2 separate regions of the Homo sapiens genome follow, and region 1 is linked to region 2. Evidence: promoter capture Hi-C in human tissues and cell types (Jung and others, 2019). All regions are on one chromosome and are shown on one strand. The core of a region is centred on a gene start or on the middle of the fragment in contact, and the rest is flanking DNA. Distances in the headings are between cores, read along the strand shown.

Region 1 (7,012 bases), core at 4,505-7,004, 43 kb before region 2:
ATTAAGGACTGAGTACCAAATAACAGAGCTGGTCCTGGGGTGAGGCACACGAGGTGCCTTGGGGTACAAACTTTAAGGAGGCACTGACCCTGCATTAGCACAGCCGAGAGAGCAATGCTTCCTTCATTTTCATGCCCTAGGTGCCTTGCTTACTTCACCTGAGTCTCATACCTGTCAAGTATTATACCTTTTTTTTGAGGTTTAATAATGGCATTGTGATTACATAACAAAATATTTGCATTTTTTTAGAGATGTGTATTACATCATGGAGAGGTGAAATGACGTGTCTGGGATTTGCTTTAAAACAGTTCAGCAAGAAAAAGGGATAGATGAAGCAAATGTGGCAGCATCTAGGTAACTGTGGAAATTGCATAATGAGTGTTTGGGGATTTGTTATATATTCTTTTGAATGGTTGAAAATTTTCATAATAAACTTTGTTTTAAACTGGGTAACAGCATGACAACATAAATAATGGCATCACCGAAATGGACATATTTGCTGATCTCCCAAATTTTCCTGTCCACTGGTATCCTTTATTCTTGGCCTGCCATCCTCTTCCCAGGATGAAATGCAGACAATGTGCCCCTCCATGACTGGTGTACAATGCTAGGAAATTCAAGGCATCACTGCCCTGGGTCTCCCCTTGGTAACCTGGACAAGGATGGGAGACACTGTGGATATGTACTTTACCTGAAACTTTAGAAAGATAAAAGGAGTCACTTGAGGCCTCCCAAAGGAAACTGGGAGTTGAAGTGGGCGTAAGGGATGTAGGGTCAGATCTCGGTTCAAATCCCAACTCTGCCGTCAGCAAAGTACTGAACTTTTCTGAGCCCTGGTTTCTTTGGCTGTGAAAACAGGAATGTTAATATTTATCCTAAAAGGATTGATGTGGGAATTAAGTGAGATAACGTTTGTGAAAATCCTTAGTACCTTGCCTGGAACATGGAAGCTACTCTGTTTCTTCCCTCTTTCCTTGAAGGAGAGATGTCTTTGGCATCTTTAGGCTGCAGTTGTGCATTATGGATGGGAGAATTCTGTTTTTTGGGGACATAACAGCTGTTACCCCTGTTCTTACTCAACTATAGTCTGAATGACTGAGTTTTGCTCTTGAAGACCCTCTGTGTCAAAATGCCACTGTGGAGATTTTTTTTCTGGGAGGATTCTGACTGTGTTTTCAACCACTCAGAGACCACAGCTGTTGAGTTCCACTTTCCCTTCCCTGTCCCCCAGTACTGGGCCCCTCACCCTGAGGTTGCTGCTCTCCCAGACCACATTCTCACATTGCCTGATTCTATGACCAAACCAGATGAGTCTACCAGATGAAAAATCACTTTGCCAGTGTCTGAATTTTCCTCTCCAGATCTTCCAGAAGTCTTGCTGAGGCCTCTGACCTTTGCATGAACACCTGGTGGCTTGTGAGAGACCCAAGGCATTCTGATGTGTAGCCCAGCTTGAGACTTAGAATCTGTTTTCTCCAGCCATTGATTCTAGGGCAACAAAGAAGTTCCTGCTCAACATTCCGTTTCATGTATGTAGAAAAATATGGACACATACACAAAATATACGTATTAATGTTTGAGGTTTTGGATTTAATAGCAATAGGAGTCCATAAGCAGGAGATGTCAGGAATGGCTTCAAGGAGGAGGTGAAGGGGAGTTTTGGAGGTTGAACAAAATTTAGATAAAGGAAGAGAAGGAAAGATGAAAGGCATTCACAAGCTTGACTCCCATCCAGCACCCTGTTAGATTTTCTTTATAATTTGCCACTGGAAACCTCCAGAAAAGTTATCAGATGAGTTTGTTTTAGAGTAAGTAAGCTGGAAAAAAAAGATAATATTGGAAAACTCAGACCATAGTTCAGTATCATTTCTGAGTGTTTGTGAGGGTAGCAAGTGTGCAGCCATAGGTAGACTAGACCCATGATGTCCCAAGACAGGGTTCCTCTGTTCTTAACTTGTGCTAAGGTAAACCAAGGATGACGTAAAATTTCTATTATTAGTACAGCCTGTATTTTTAATCTTCCTCATCACAATAAGCCAAAAGCCTTACCACACAGTTTGATGTGAAGATTTATTTTTTAGACCAGTGTGTGACTGAAGTAGCTGGGTGGGCAGTGGGTGGGGGTAAAGGTGACGGAGGATCATTGGAGAAGCTCCTATAGGGAGAGGAGACGAAGCTCAGGTTGGCAGAGCTGCTGAGGTACACCAGGCCTGGGTGCCCTCTGTGGCCTGAGGATCCCCTCCTCCCTGGAGCCTTCTTTTAGGATTCCATGATGTCAGCTACAGAAAACAGGAGTTCCCACAGCAGTGGAAGCACCCAGCCAATGACATCAGAATCTGTGGGGTGGACCCAGCATATGCTCTTTTCAAAGCCCTCTGGTTAATCCAATGTGCAGCTAAGGCTGAGAACATCCACTCTAAACATTTAGACCGTAGTTGCTCTGGGTCCTGACTGCAGATTCAAACCACATTTCTTGAAAAATTATCCTGTCTTTTAGGCCTATCTCCCAAGACTCTGCTATCGCATGGGGTGGGCCAACCCAGGCATTGGGAATTTAAAAAAACTCCCCAAAATGATTCTAATGAGCAACCAAGGTTGGGAGCCAATGTCCTAATTTTAAGAAAGCAGCTAACAACTAAAGCCAGAACCTCCCCTCCACACATCACCTAAGAGGTGGCAGAAATAGCTCAACAAACACTCCTACAAGCAGCCTAACTCTCATCTCTTCGTCAGGAGGACACTGGGAGGGGAGAGTGGGCCTTGGAGAAGGAAAAGGTTAGTAGGGTCAGGTTATCCCCTTCCTCTATATGGAGGGAGTGGGAGTGCTGAGGGGGTCACAGGGGGCTTCCATAGGACTCCAATAGAGAGAGGGCCTGCCAGAAGGGAGAACGATGACAGTTCTTAGCAAGGTAGTTCTCCCATGTCAGGGAACTTTAGGAGGTTCTGCTGCTGGATCTCCCCCAAATTATCCACATATCCCAGGAGAGATGATACATGGAGTCTGCCTTGTTGTGGGCTTCAGGGCCAGGCACTGTCAGCCAGGGCAGCAATGACTTCAGGGGAGAAAGAATGCCAGCTGCTGCCAGCTGAGGAATGAGACAAGTTTCTTCCTTCTCTCCTCATCCCAACATCATTTTCCAATCCTGTGTATTCCATTTCCCCACACTCCATGCAGTTGGGGTCTCTGCTGAAGCCCACAATGGGGACAGGAGGGAAGAAGATTTCAATGGAATTCTATGGACTGAATTTAATAACCAAAAGCAACTAGAGGAGAAATTCTCTGATAGGCCTAAGATGAGGACTAGAACAAGGGACCTGATGTGGCCAAACTGGAAGCAGAGGCTAGAGAAATAGCAGCCAGTTTCTGTCTATTGCCTGCTGAGTAGAGACCATTTACTGCATCAGTTACTCACATGTTGTGTCCCTCTACAAGATTCGAAGGTCTTTGAGGGCAGGAATACACCTGATGCTTTTGAAACAACCAAAAGCCAGGCCCGCACTGGGCATAGAGCAGAGGCAGGTTCTTCCCCACATCCTGGATAATCTTTTCATTCTGCTTGGTCTACTGGTGGCACAGAGGTTTTGTTTTAAACTAAGGCTTTCTCACCTCATTGTTGGGGGGGGGGATTAATTATAAAATAAAGGTACAGCTCAGGTAAATTGTTTTACACTACATGAGCAATATGGCATTGGCAACAATTTTAAAAAGTTTTTGGAAGGTTACATTTGACTTTGAAGCTGGATATCTGTAAGTTCACAGATATTCCCTGACCCCAGCTTGTGGTGCTCCTTGGCAGCCAGTGATAATGCCTGAGACCCGCATTTTATACTGGCCCTAAAATTCAAGCAGTTTTGGAGGTCTTTATTAATCTCTTAAGTCAACCAACCTCTCTCCACTTAGAATACTGGAAGGATTCCAAAGTGGAAAGGTATTTATTGAGTGTATATTGCAATGACTTACCCTGAAATCACTGTGTTGGGGAATTAATTTACATGAAACATTGCAGGTCATTTTATTGCTTCAGTTCTCCCATACTACCTTTGTTCCGAGAATCTGGAGGTTCCTTGGGAATAGGATGGAAAGACTTCTGCACCTTGGCCCCCTAAATCAAGAGGAGAAACAATCTTGCCATTTTAGTGTTAAAATGAGTGCTGATGCAAACATTTACCTTTTTATTTATACTGATAATCTAATGAATAATCTGAAAATATGGCCAGGGGAGGAGGATTGCCAGGAATGATAAACACATAGTAAAGTAGTTTGATATGCAGGAAACTGCTTCTAAAATACACTAGCTGGTGCTTACTGAGGGAAACAATTACTCTTCGGATACAACCTGCTTTCGTTCTATAGCCATCTTTTTCTTTCTATTTTTTTTTTTACAAAAATATTTATCTTAATGGTATATTTCCCTACAGACTTTTTTCATATTCATATTTTACAAGGATACAAATCATCTATGTTCAATTTTTCATTCCTTTTAAAAATTTAATATATAGCATAAATGTCTTCAAGTTATTATGTAGTATTCATATCTATAATTTTAATGCTAAAATTATTTTGTTAGGTAACTTATAATAATTTATTTAAATATAACCTAATATAAGAATTTGAGTTTGCCTCCAATTTTACTATTATAAAAATGCCATTTTTGCTATTATAAAATGTATTTTTATGATGTGCCTTTTTATTATTTTGAACTTCTTAAGAGCAGGTTCTCAGAAGTGAAGTTTTGGGGCACAATGTTTGAAATCATTTTAATTCTTGACAAAATTGCTGAATTTCTTTCCAAAATGACTATACCAATGTACAACTCTCCCATACACAACTTTCTTTTTACGGTCTTATGAAAGCCTTCTTTTATTTACTGAGAAAAAAGTAGAAGCCATTTGTGTTATCATAGCATGATAAACTCCCCAAAATCTCTCCAAAATGAAAATGAAATTCATGCATATTTTTAGAGAGGAGAAAAGTAGAGAAACATGGTGTTGGACTATCACAACTGTGTGTGTGTGTGTGTGTGTGTGTGTGTGTGGTGGGCTTTGTAAAGAATTGGGGCTTAATGTACCTAACAAACGACTAATCTTTTGCCTGAAAAATAGGCTGAGCTGACCAGATGGTGAGTGGAATGAAATCACTTTCCTACCATTATGGGCAAGATTTCTAACTCTTTGTCACCCACTCTGTTCTTCCTAGGCAGTAAGTCAATGGGGAGGCTTGCTTATAAACGACAGGAGGCAAAACCCCATCTCCACCCTAATTTCTCATCACTTGTTCAGTACCTATTCATTTAGACTTTTGTCTTTAATACGTGTATTTTCCCTTGGCAATACCATAATGTCTTTTTTTTGTCTCTTCACCATAATCATGATGAACAAAAATGTAATGCACATAGTATTCCTTCATTTGAGTCTTTCTTTTATTCTTTTAATTTCAAACTGCTGTTCTTCCTAAAGGAGGACTGTGTTACAAAAGAATGAAATTTTCCAGACAATGTTTGGTACATAATAGTTTTAAGAGGCTTCATGTTTGCAAGAGACAAATTAAGCAGCCTCCCCTAATATGTAGACAACATCTGTTACACAGTCACCATTAATGATAACACTGGGATCTCTTTTGTGGCTGATTTTCATCCAGCTGCACCTACCCATAAAAGGCGCCAGCAAAGAGGGCTACACATTTATCTGTCAGTTCAGAATGACTTTGGAAAATGGCACATAAACCTAAAGCAAATCTTTGTTAACCTCTGAAATCAGAGCCTCCATAAATCACTGCTAAGGACAGCTTATAACCTCCTCACAGCCAACTCATCATCTCCATTCAGTGTTTGATAAGATGCTCCAAATCTTAGGCTGGTTATACAGAAGAAAGCTACACATCAAGAAACTAAGCCTTATGTTTGGTGCCCACCTGTAAAGAAACACACATACCCATTGATCAATTACAAGTTTTTGCTCCAAAGCTTTATTTCAGACAACATTCCCACCTGCACCAATGGATCTCTTCCTAAGTAATAAAAACGCTACAAAATCCTTGGTAGGGCTAATTAGCTATGGCTAATCATTTGATTTGATGACTTGTTATTATTTGAAATTAAACATTAAGATTCTTAAATGAAAACCATTCAGAAAGCTAGGAGAGGGGTTCCACTTTCTTTGCAAGACTGAGCTGTATGAAATCTCTTTCTTACAATTTGGTTGTGAAATGTATTCTGGTATATTTTCATCTCTGGGTTTCCCTGTGGATATATATCTTATAGTGTAACATGTCAATTTACTCATTTAATACCTACTCAAGTGCCCTCTCTGTTTCAGTCCTGGTGCTAGATGCTGGAGATATGTGAAGGAAAAAATAAATCAAGTCTCTACGCTCAGGTACTTGTATCCACCACAGGCATAGAGAAAAAACAAATGGCTCAGATTATAAATAAAGCAAGAGTGATTGAGGGTTGGCATTTTAAATGTGATGTTCAGAGAAGGCCTTTATTTGTACAGAATCCTAAATAAAACAATGGAGATAGCAGTGTGAATTGGCAGGAAAAGAGCATCCCAGGCAGAGGGAACAGAATTGCTCAGGCCCCAAACTTGGCAAGTGCAAGAAACAGCACAGAAGCCTGTCTGGTTGGATGCTGATGCAAGACGGAAAGCAAGTTTGTGAAGGTGGGCAGGGGTCAGGCCTTGGAGGGCCTTGAAGGCCATAGTAAGGAGTACAGGTTCTACACTATGTGAAGGAATGCTTTAGGAGGTTCTTGAGCAGTGGACTATTGTCTGGCTTATATTCACTTTGGTACAACACCAAATTCAACTAAATGCAGTTTTCACGCTAGCTGAAAGATCTCTCTGAGCATAAATCATAATGTAACTCAGCTTCTCCACCTGTTAACAATGGGTTTATGTATTTCCAAGGTGTTCACAGATGGCTTTCAGAGAGTCCACAGAATGCTTGTAAAATGTATATTTTCGCATATATTTAAAAAATTCAGACCTCACAAAGGCTAAGAACCACTGATCT
Region 2 (7,468 bases), core at 3,783-6,282:
CACCCAGATTGCAGGCCCGCGGTCCTGGCCACAGCTCCAAATTTGTCCTCAATGAGCAAGTGGTGGAAGCCTGCCAGGGTGAGGACCTTCCACGCTTCCCCCTTCCTCTCTGGAAACCTGAGGGTCTCTTGTGATCATTCTCACCCTGGAAGCCCTGGGGCCTGGAAAAGTCAAAATGGCCTCAGGCCTTCTGACAGCTCCGCTCCAAGAGACTTGAAACCCTCACCTTTCCTCCCAAGAGGATTTTGGGATTAGGGGAAGTTGCAAGTGGATGTTGAGTGGTTAGTACCAGGGCAGGTTGGGCGTTCAATTATTGCACAACAAACTATTTGGGAGAAATTCGTTGGCCTTTAAAAACAGTAAGACATAAGCCCCCAAACATTGCCAAGCTAGTGTGGAGAACAAAGGGAGACCTTTTAGCATTTAGAAAAACTGCCCTTTCCCCGAGGATGAGCCCGGAGATGGGAAAGGACCTTTACTGGGGTATTAGAAAGACTTCCGAGCCCTCAATTATCCAGGGGCGGTGTGGAACGCGGGAATAAAGTGTCATCGCGTCCCTGGGCTGCTGCGCAGAGTGCTATCGACGCACAGATTTGGTCGCACGGATAATCATGTTTGCTTTAGATATTGAATTAAACCTGATCATCAACTACAGGGAGCGAGAAAGTCAGCTGGGACCGCTCCTTTTGCCCGGCCTCCTCACTGCCACCCAACCCCCCAGCCTTGATGGTGCAGCTTCGGAGAGAACAGAGATACAATTTCCAAATGCGCCGACGTTCAGTCCCTCAGCGTCTGCAGCACCCGCTGGGCTCTGAGCTAGAGTCCCAAGTATTTTTAGAAACCCGCGAGATAGAGGAGAAAGGCTCATCCTCCAGTTGGCCAGGCTTCCTAAGACGCTCCCCCGCGTGGCCAAGTGTGCGCCAGCATCTGCCAAGGAGATCTTCCTCCAGCAACAAGGGTGGGACGGAATCCGTTCCCCGCCGGAAAGATGGATGCGCCCTTCCCGGGCGTGCCCGGGGCTGTGTGCCCACTTCCCATCCGGGGAGCTCACCCCACCCCCAAACCTCTACTTCCTAGCAATCCACCCAGTTCCACGCTCAAGGGCTGACCTGGGGGGACCGCACACCCTGGTTCGGACCGCCGAACGCTGGAGGGAAGGAGGCCCGGGATCCAGTCCCCGGAGAGAGGCCTGGAAGCCCGGAAAGGATGGGAGCGTAAGGGAAGGGAGAGGCATGGTTTGCTGGGATTGCCAAAGATTCTCGCTCCCTGGCTTCCTGGGGCCAAAGATCCTAGGGAGGGCTGCAGTATCCCCTCCCTCCCCCGAGCCCAGAACCCCGCGTACTTCCCCCAAGCCCCCTAAGCCAAAGCCTCGCGCGCCCTGACCGTTCCCACCCCCAGCCTTAGCGGTCTCCTAGGTCAGCACCAGCCCGCAGATTTTGAAAAGGAGTGGGGAGTGGGGAGAAGGCAGCCAGTCTTAACCTCAGACCCCCACCCACCCACTTTCTTAGCGTGAGGTAAGTCAAATGTAACAAAGTGAAAGTCATCGAGTGTAGTGGCTTCAACAGCTTCTCAGGCTGAAGGAGCCACTCATAGATTTGGGCCAGCGAGGGGGGTTTGCTCTCCTCGCCTTTGCGGCTCCCGAAGTCACTTTTCCTCCCGTAGCCGGACGCTGCCGCCCGGGGTTCAGACAGCGCGCGAGACCAGGGGAGATGCGGGGGAGGGTGGGCGGCCCTGGGCTTCCGGCCGACCGCTCGCAGGCCGGAGGCCGAGCGTTCTCCTCCCCGCCCCAATCCTAGGCGCGGGGTGCAGCCTGTGGTCGGAGGGGCCTGCACCGGGAGCCCCGCCCGCCCCAGGGCCCCGGTACCCCCGGCCTCCCCGCCCGAGAGGAACCGCCTGTGGGAGCCCCGCGGGCGGCCGGGCCCGGCTCCCAGGCCCAGGCCTCCGGCCCGGCGCAGTAGGACAAACGGGAGGGCAGGGATTTTTTCTTTTTTTCTTTTTTAAACACAGGATTTTTATTAAAATTCTTATTTAAAAAATCGAAAGCTTTCTGCGCCCGGCGCTGTTGGGGAACCGCGCCGAATAGCTGAGCTCCAAGTTCGGGGCTGAAGGCCCGGAGGACAGGGCAGAGGGCTCCCTGCCTACAGGGTTTTCTTTTCCATATTTGAGAAATGTTTGCACAATAAAATAAAAAGAGAAAGGAAGAAAGCAGGGGAAAACGCAAAAACAAAAACAAAACAAAAAACAAACCCAAACAAGCCACAAAGAAAGGAGTTGGACCCAGACGGGAAACAGGCCGGTCCTGAAGGTCATTTTGGCAACAATCACCACCGATATTTACAACGAAAAGCGAAATCTGCCACCAGTTGTCAGAACGTTTACATGGCCATAAATATTTAGCATTTTCTTATTTTTTTTTAAAAAAAGGAAGAAATTCTCTGTATTTTTAAAGTGTTCTCCACTTGCTTTAGAAGACGGCTGACAATATCGCTACTCACACAAACATATTTTACAAAATGCACGAAAGCAGGGGTGGGGGGTCGGTCTTTTTCTCGTTTTCAAGTGACGACATTAACGCTGGGACGGTTTGGTCCCCCCGGGGAGAGGCAAAGAAGCGAAGCTGCGCAAACATTCTGTAAACACGGCGTAGAGTTCAGCCCTCTCCCAAGGTTCAGAAGGAGAGGCATGGGCAGAGCTGGGTGGGTGGAATCTGCCACTCCAAGGAGACGCAGGCAACCTCCCGGCGCCTCCCTAGTGGAGCCGAGAGTCAACTCGACTCCATAATAATAATTATAATAATAATAATAACCACCATAAGGACCGAGGCCTCCTCGCCGCCACCGCCGCCGGGGTGGGGCCTGGGCCTGGGGCCGCGAGTCTCGTTGGGGCGGCGCTCACCAAGTCCACTGCTGGGCCTGGACCAGGGGGTGTGCTGTCGGGTACTGGGGGGTGCTGGCCGAGCTGTACTGGGCGTTGTACTGCATGTGCTGCAGCGACTGCGCGCTGTAGGCAGAAAAGGGAATGCCCGCCTGGAAGGTGGCGGCTGCCAGGTCCTGGGCTTTGAGCGCGTGACATGGTTTGCCGTCCCTGACCAAGACGGGCACGGCCACCCGGCGCGGCGAGGGCAGGGGCGTCACCTCCATACCTTTCTCGGCCCGGGCGCGCTTCATCTTGTAGCGGTGGTTCTGGAACCAGATCTTGACCTGCGTGGGCGTGAGGCGGATGAGGCTGGCCAGGTGTTCGCGCTCGGGCGCCGACAGGTACCGCTGCTGCCGAAAGCGCCGCTCCAGCTCGTAGGTCTGCGCCTTGGAGAAAAGCACTCGCCGCTTTCGCTTCTTGCCGGCGTCCCCCCCGCCGCCCGGGGTCTCCTTGTCATTGTCCGGTGACTCGTCGGCCGAGGGCTCCGGGGACTTGGAGCTTGAGTCCTGAGGGGGCGCCCCGGCAGCCAGACCGTGCACTGGGGGGAGGGGGAGAGAGAAGCGCGTCAGGCGTCTGGAGGCCGCGCGCAGCCTGCACCAGACTCGGAGCACCCTGGATCCTCCGTGCGACCCTGGACCTCCGCGCCTGGCAGCCCAGCCCCGCTGCCTTTGCCATGACCCCTGCCTTCCTCTACGCCTGACGAAGACGTCGGGACCTCCCAGGGTAAAGAGGGAAATCCGTAGGAGTGGGGGCTAGGGGCTCGCCTTTCAAGGGGCTCACATAGTGTGGGTGAGAATTTGGGGGGGGAAGTGGCACTGAAGATCATCGCGGGTTAAGGGCTCCGGCGCCCTTAAGCGGTTTCCTCTCCGGCGAGACGTGGGCAGATTTTTAAAAGAAATACCCCACAATCCCAGCATTGATCGGCTCGGCCATTTAAGGCAGGTTTTTGGGGGCTTTCGTTTCTGCTTTCGGGCCTTCTAGACACCCCCTGCACTGCACAAAGCGTCCTCTATGATCGCGCAGGGGGCAGGGTGAGCTATTTATACCCGGGCCACCCGAAGCCTCCCCACCCTCCACCCGTACCCGGACGAGGCTCGCTGGCTACCTCCAGGGCGCCAGGCCAGTCCCTCCCAGCGGCCGGAGTCCGGGGGCTGCGGCTGGAGCCATCGGTCCGGGTTGACATCATATACCAGCCCCTGGGAGGTATAGCCCTTCTCCCTCTTTCTCCTTAACTTCTCGCATTGAAAAAAATTTTGGAGACCAAGTTCTTTCCCGGAACTAAGGAGGCTTGAAGAGGAGGGCAGAGGACATCCTATACAGGTGTTAAAAATCTTTCTACGGATCCGAGTGAGGGGGTCCGGGCTTACATGGCCCCTTCCCCTTTCACTCCCAGCGTCCAACCCGGGCTGCGGCTGCAGGAATGGAGGGGACCACGGCCTCGGCAGCCAAGTTTTGCTACTTACGGGAGTACTGAAGGCCCTCGGTGCTGGCCAGCCAGCGCGTGTACGGGTTGTCGCTGCTGTCGTAGAAGGGGTTCTTCAGGGGCAGGCTCTGCACCGCGTCCAGGGCGCCCTGCCCCAGCGGCCCGGCCCTCTTGGCTGGCTCGGGCCCCTCGTTCTCTTCCTCCGGACCTTCGGCCACAGAGCCCTCCTCATCGTTGGTGTCCGGCAGGTCTAAGATGTCCTTGACCGAAAACCCCGTCTTTGTGTTGGTCAGCGACATGGTTCGAGACCCCAAAATTTATGTCGCAAAGTTGTAGCTTCACTTGGTCAATTCGTGGCGCTCCCCTGCCCCGGCGGGCGGGGGAGGGGGGAGTTGGGGGGAGGGACTGGGGGAGGGGAGGGGGGAATTGGCTTTAATTATTGGGATAATTATTATTTTTAAAAAGAGAAAGAAACTGGGGATGGGGAGGAAAAAAATGAAGCCCAACCCAGTGCCTCTCTCTGTCTTCTTTGAAAGCACGCGGAAATGGACGCAGGAAGCCGGGCGGCCTGCGCGCCGAGCGCCGCGGGCCCCGGCCTTAGTTTCTAACTCCAGGAGGGGTGCCAAGGCGGCGTCAGCTCGGGCTCCGGCGGCCGCTCGGCGCGCGGTGGCGGCTGGTGGCGAGGAAAAAATGGGCCATTGCCCGAGCGATCAGTCCATATAAGGCTGGGCTCCACTCACGAACCTGGGGAGGCGGGGAGAGGGGGAGAAAGAGAGGGAGGGAGGGAAAGAAAGAGGGAGGGAGGGGGAGCGAGAGAGGGAGCGGGAGAAGGGTGGAAAAAAGGGGGAAGAGACATTAAAAACGCAAAGGTTGGCCACGTGTGGGCGGGTCTTGGGAGTCAAGTGGATGAAGACAGTATTTGCAGATGTGAAATTGTGGGTTTTGGGGAGCTCCGCGCTCCCAGCCAACGGCCCTCTAGAGCAAGATGAGAGGTGTAACGTGTCAATTAATTGCAAAGACGGGGCGAGCCTTTTTTTTTTTAAACCCAGTATTTACATACAAAGGGCCACCGCGTCGCTCGCGAGTCCACACACTTGAAAGGGCCGTTTTAACAAATTGCATCTTAAAAAAGGTGGGGGTGGGGAGGAGGAGGGGAGAAAACAAAACAGAAACCAGGAGGAGGGAAAAAATCCTCTTTAACATTCACCGGTTCCTACCTCCCCGCCCCCGCGCGCCCACCCCCGGCAAGCCGGAAAATTGGCGATTTGTGGCGCCTTTGGAAAAGGGGGAGGGGGCGAAGGCCGAGCTGCGGAAATCTCTCCTTTCCATCGTTGGTGGTTGCCTAAACAAGATCCGGTTCAAATGGCAAGAGCCCAACTTCTGTAAGCCTCCTAGGTCAATATTTTGGTTGAGGCTTAAGGATGAGTGCTAGAAATGACAAGGCAAGTAATTGATTCCAGTTAACCGCGAGAGAGCCCAAAACCCAGGAGAGAGCTCCGCTCCGGGCCGGCCAGAGCCACCACCAAGCGACCCGCCCCCTTCCAGCCGCCCTTTATTTGCTAAAGACTCATTTATTTCCTTCACTCCGCCTCCCCCCACCTCCCACCCCCAACCCCCCGCCTCCACCTCTCTGCGGCCAAGGAGGACGCGCAGTTCACTTTCTGCTTTGCGGGCGGTCCCGGGGAGGGCGGGGTAAGAGTGAGGAGCTCCAACTTCGTCTGGGGTCGGACCCTGGCCCTGCTGCCTCTGGGCTCTGCGGGCCTCTTTCCCCGGGTGGAGGAAAGGGCAGACGGCCCTGCTCTTTCCTGCCCTCTATTATCCCTCCCTCTCCGGCCCCCTCCCTCTCCAGCCTCTGGCTAGAGGTGGAGCAGCGGGAAGGCGGCGGGGCGGGATTGCGGGGGTGGGGGTGGGGGTTGTGTCTCCAGCCTGGGTGAAGACCCAGAAAGCTGCGGGGGAGGGGGGTCGCTGGGTGGCCCGACGATGCCTCGTTTTCTCCCCAGTTTTCTTCTCCCACGCGAGTTCTTTAGTGTGGTCTCTTTTTGGACGCCTTGGGTGCGTTCGGAGTACGCGCTCCACGTTTCCAGGTTAAGTCAGGTTAGTGTGAAGTTTCCAGCCACTCTCGGCTCTGGGAACTGAACTTTCCCGGGACTTGCACTTCCTCCTCGGCGCTGGGGTTGGAAAAGACCACGCCGCATTTGCCACCCCTTCTTCTAGTTAAAACTTTTTTGGGGGGGGGGTGCAGGGGTGTAGATTGGCTACCTGATGCTCGTTCGCCCCAGAGGAGTGTCAGGAAGGAGCTTTGTCTGGGGGCGGGGAGGGGCACAGAAGGCCACCCCTGCGGGGTCCAGGTCTAGTCTTCCCACAACCTGGGCTCCTCCGCGCGGGCCAAGCTGAGCGCGCGGGCACCGGGTCCTCCTCGCGCGCAGCTGCAGCGGACGCCGCCGCGCCCCAGCTGCCCCCGGGTTGCCAGCGCTGGGTGAGGGCACCTCTCCCCGAGCCGCTCGGCGGCTTTCTGCAGCCCTAGCTGCCTCGCCCCCAGTATGTGACGTGGGTGACAATGGCCCAGGTTAGAGCAAGCCCCTCGTCGGCGCGTCCTGGGTGGTCGGACCCGGGCAAACACAAATACAAACCGATTGCTAAGCTGCGGACAATGAGCGAAATGTAGACAAATGTCCCGCTCCCGTTGGAAGCCTTTGTCCCGGCTCGGTTTTTGCATTTATTTCAGTGGCGAAATAATACATGATTGACGCTCTCTTTCAATGTGTCCTAACTGTTTGGAATAAATCTAAGGTTGTTCCTAGTTGTCATGGCATTCAACCCTTTTCAATGGACTATCTCTTCATTCATTTCTGAATCCGTCCACAATATTAAGGAAACCCCTTCATGTCGACGCTCCCCGATTCCTCTTTCTCCTCCTACTTTTTCTTTTCTCCTTTCTCCCCCTCCTTCCCCCCTTTTTTCCCCTGGAAGAATTAGAAACTTGTTTGAATCGTCTTCCTCGAACCCATTACTTTTCGTGCTTTTTTTTTTTTTTTGCTCGCTTTCCGTCTCTGTCTTTCTCAGCGCCCCCCCTCCTCCGCCCTTTCACGTGGGAGCTCGTCGCTCTGCCCCGTCGGAGGAGGGAAGTTG

Evidence for each region. Contacts are between HindIII fragments. The study calls those that stand out against the background at their distance.
Region 1: a contact is called between a fragment that was not itself captured here and the fragment with the promoter of NKX2-2 in region 2, in 2 of the 25 tissues and cell types used here (neural progenitor cells and spleen).

Annotation. Positions count from the first base shown.
Region 1 is chr20:21,464,842-21,471,853 of GRCh38, forward strand. No RefSeq gene overlaps it. Among named protein-coding and RNA genes, the nearest start is that of NKX2-2, 46 kb to the right of the region's middle. The HindIII fragment of the contact is 3,826 bases long and covers 3,842-7,012 here.
Region 2 is chr20:21,509,032-21,516,499 of GRCh38, forward strand. It overlaps NKX2-2 (NK2 homeobox 2), which reads right to left and starts at 5,033. Exons shown (of 2, transcript NM_002509.4): 1 at 4,380-5,033; 2 at 1,986-3,454. The coding sequence starts at 4,638. The coding sequence ends at 2,892. RefSeq lists enhancers at 1-352, 6,730-7,230. The HindIII fragment of the contact is 15,862 bases long and covers 1-7,468 here.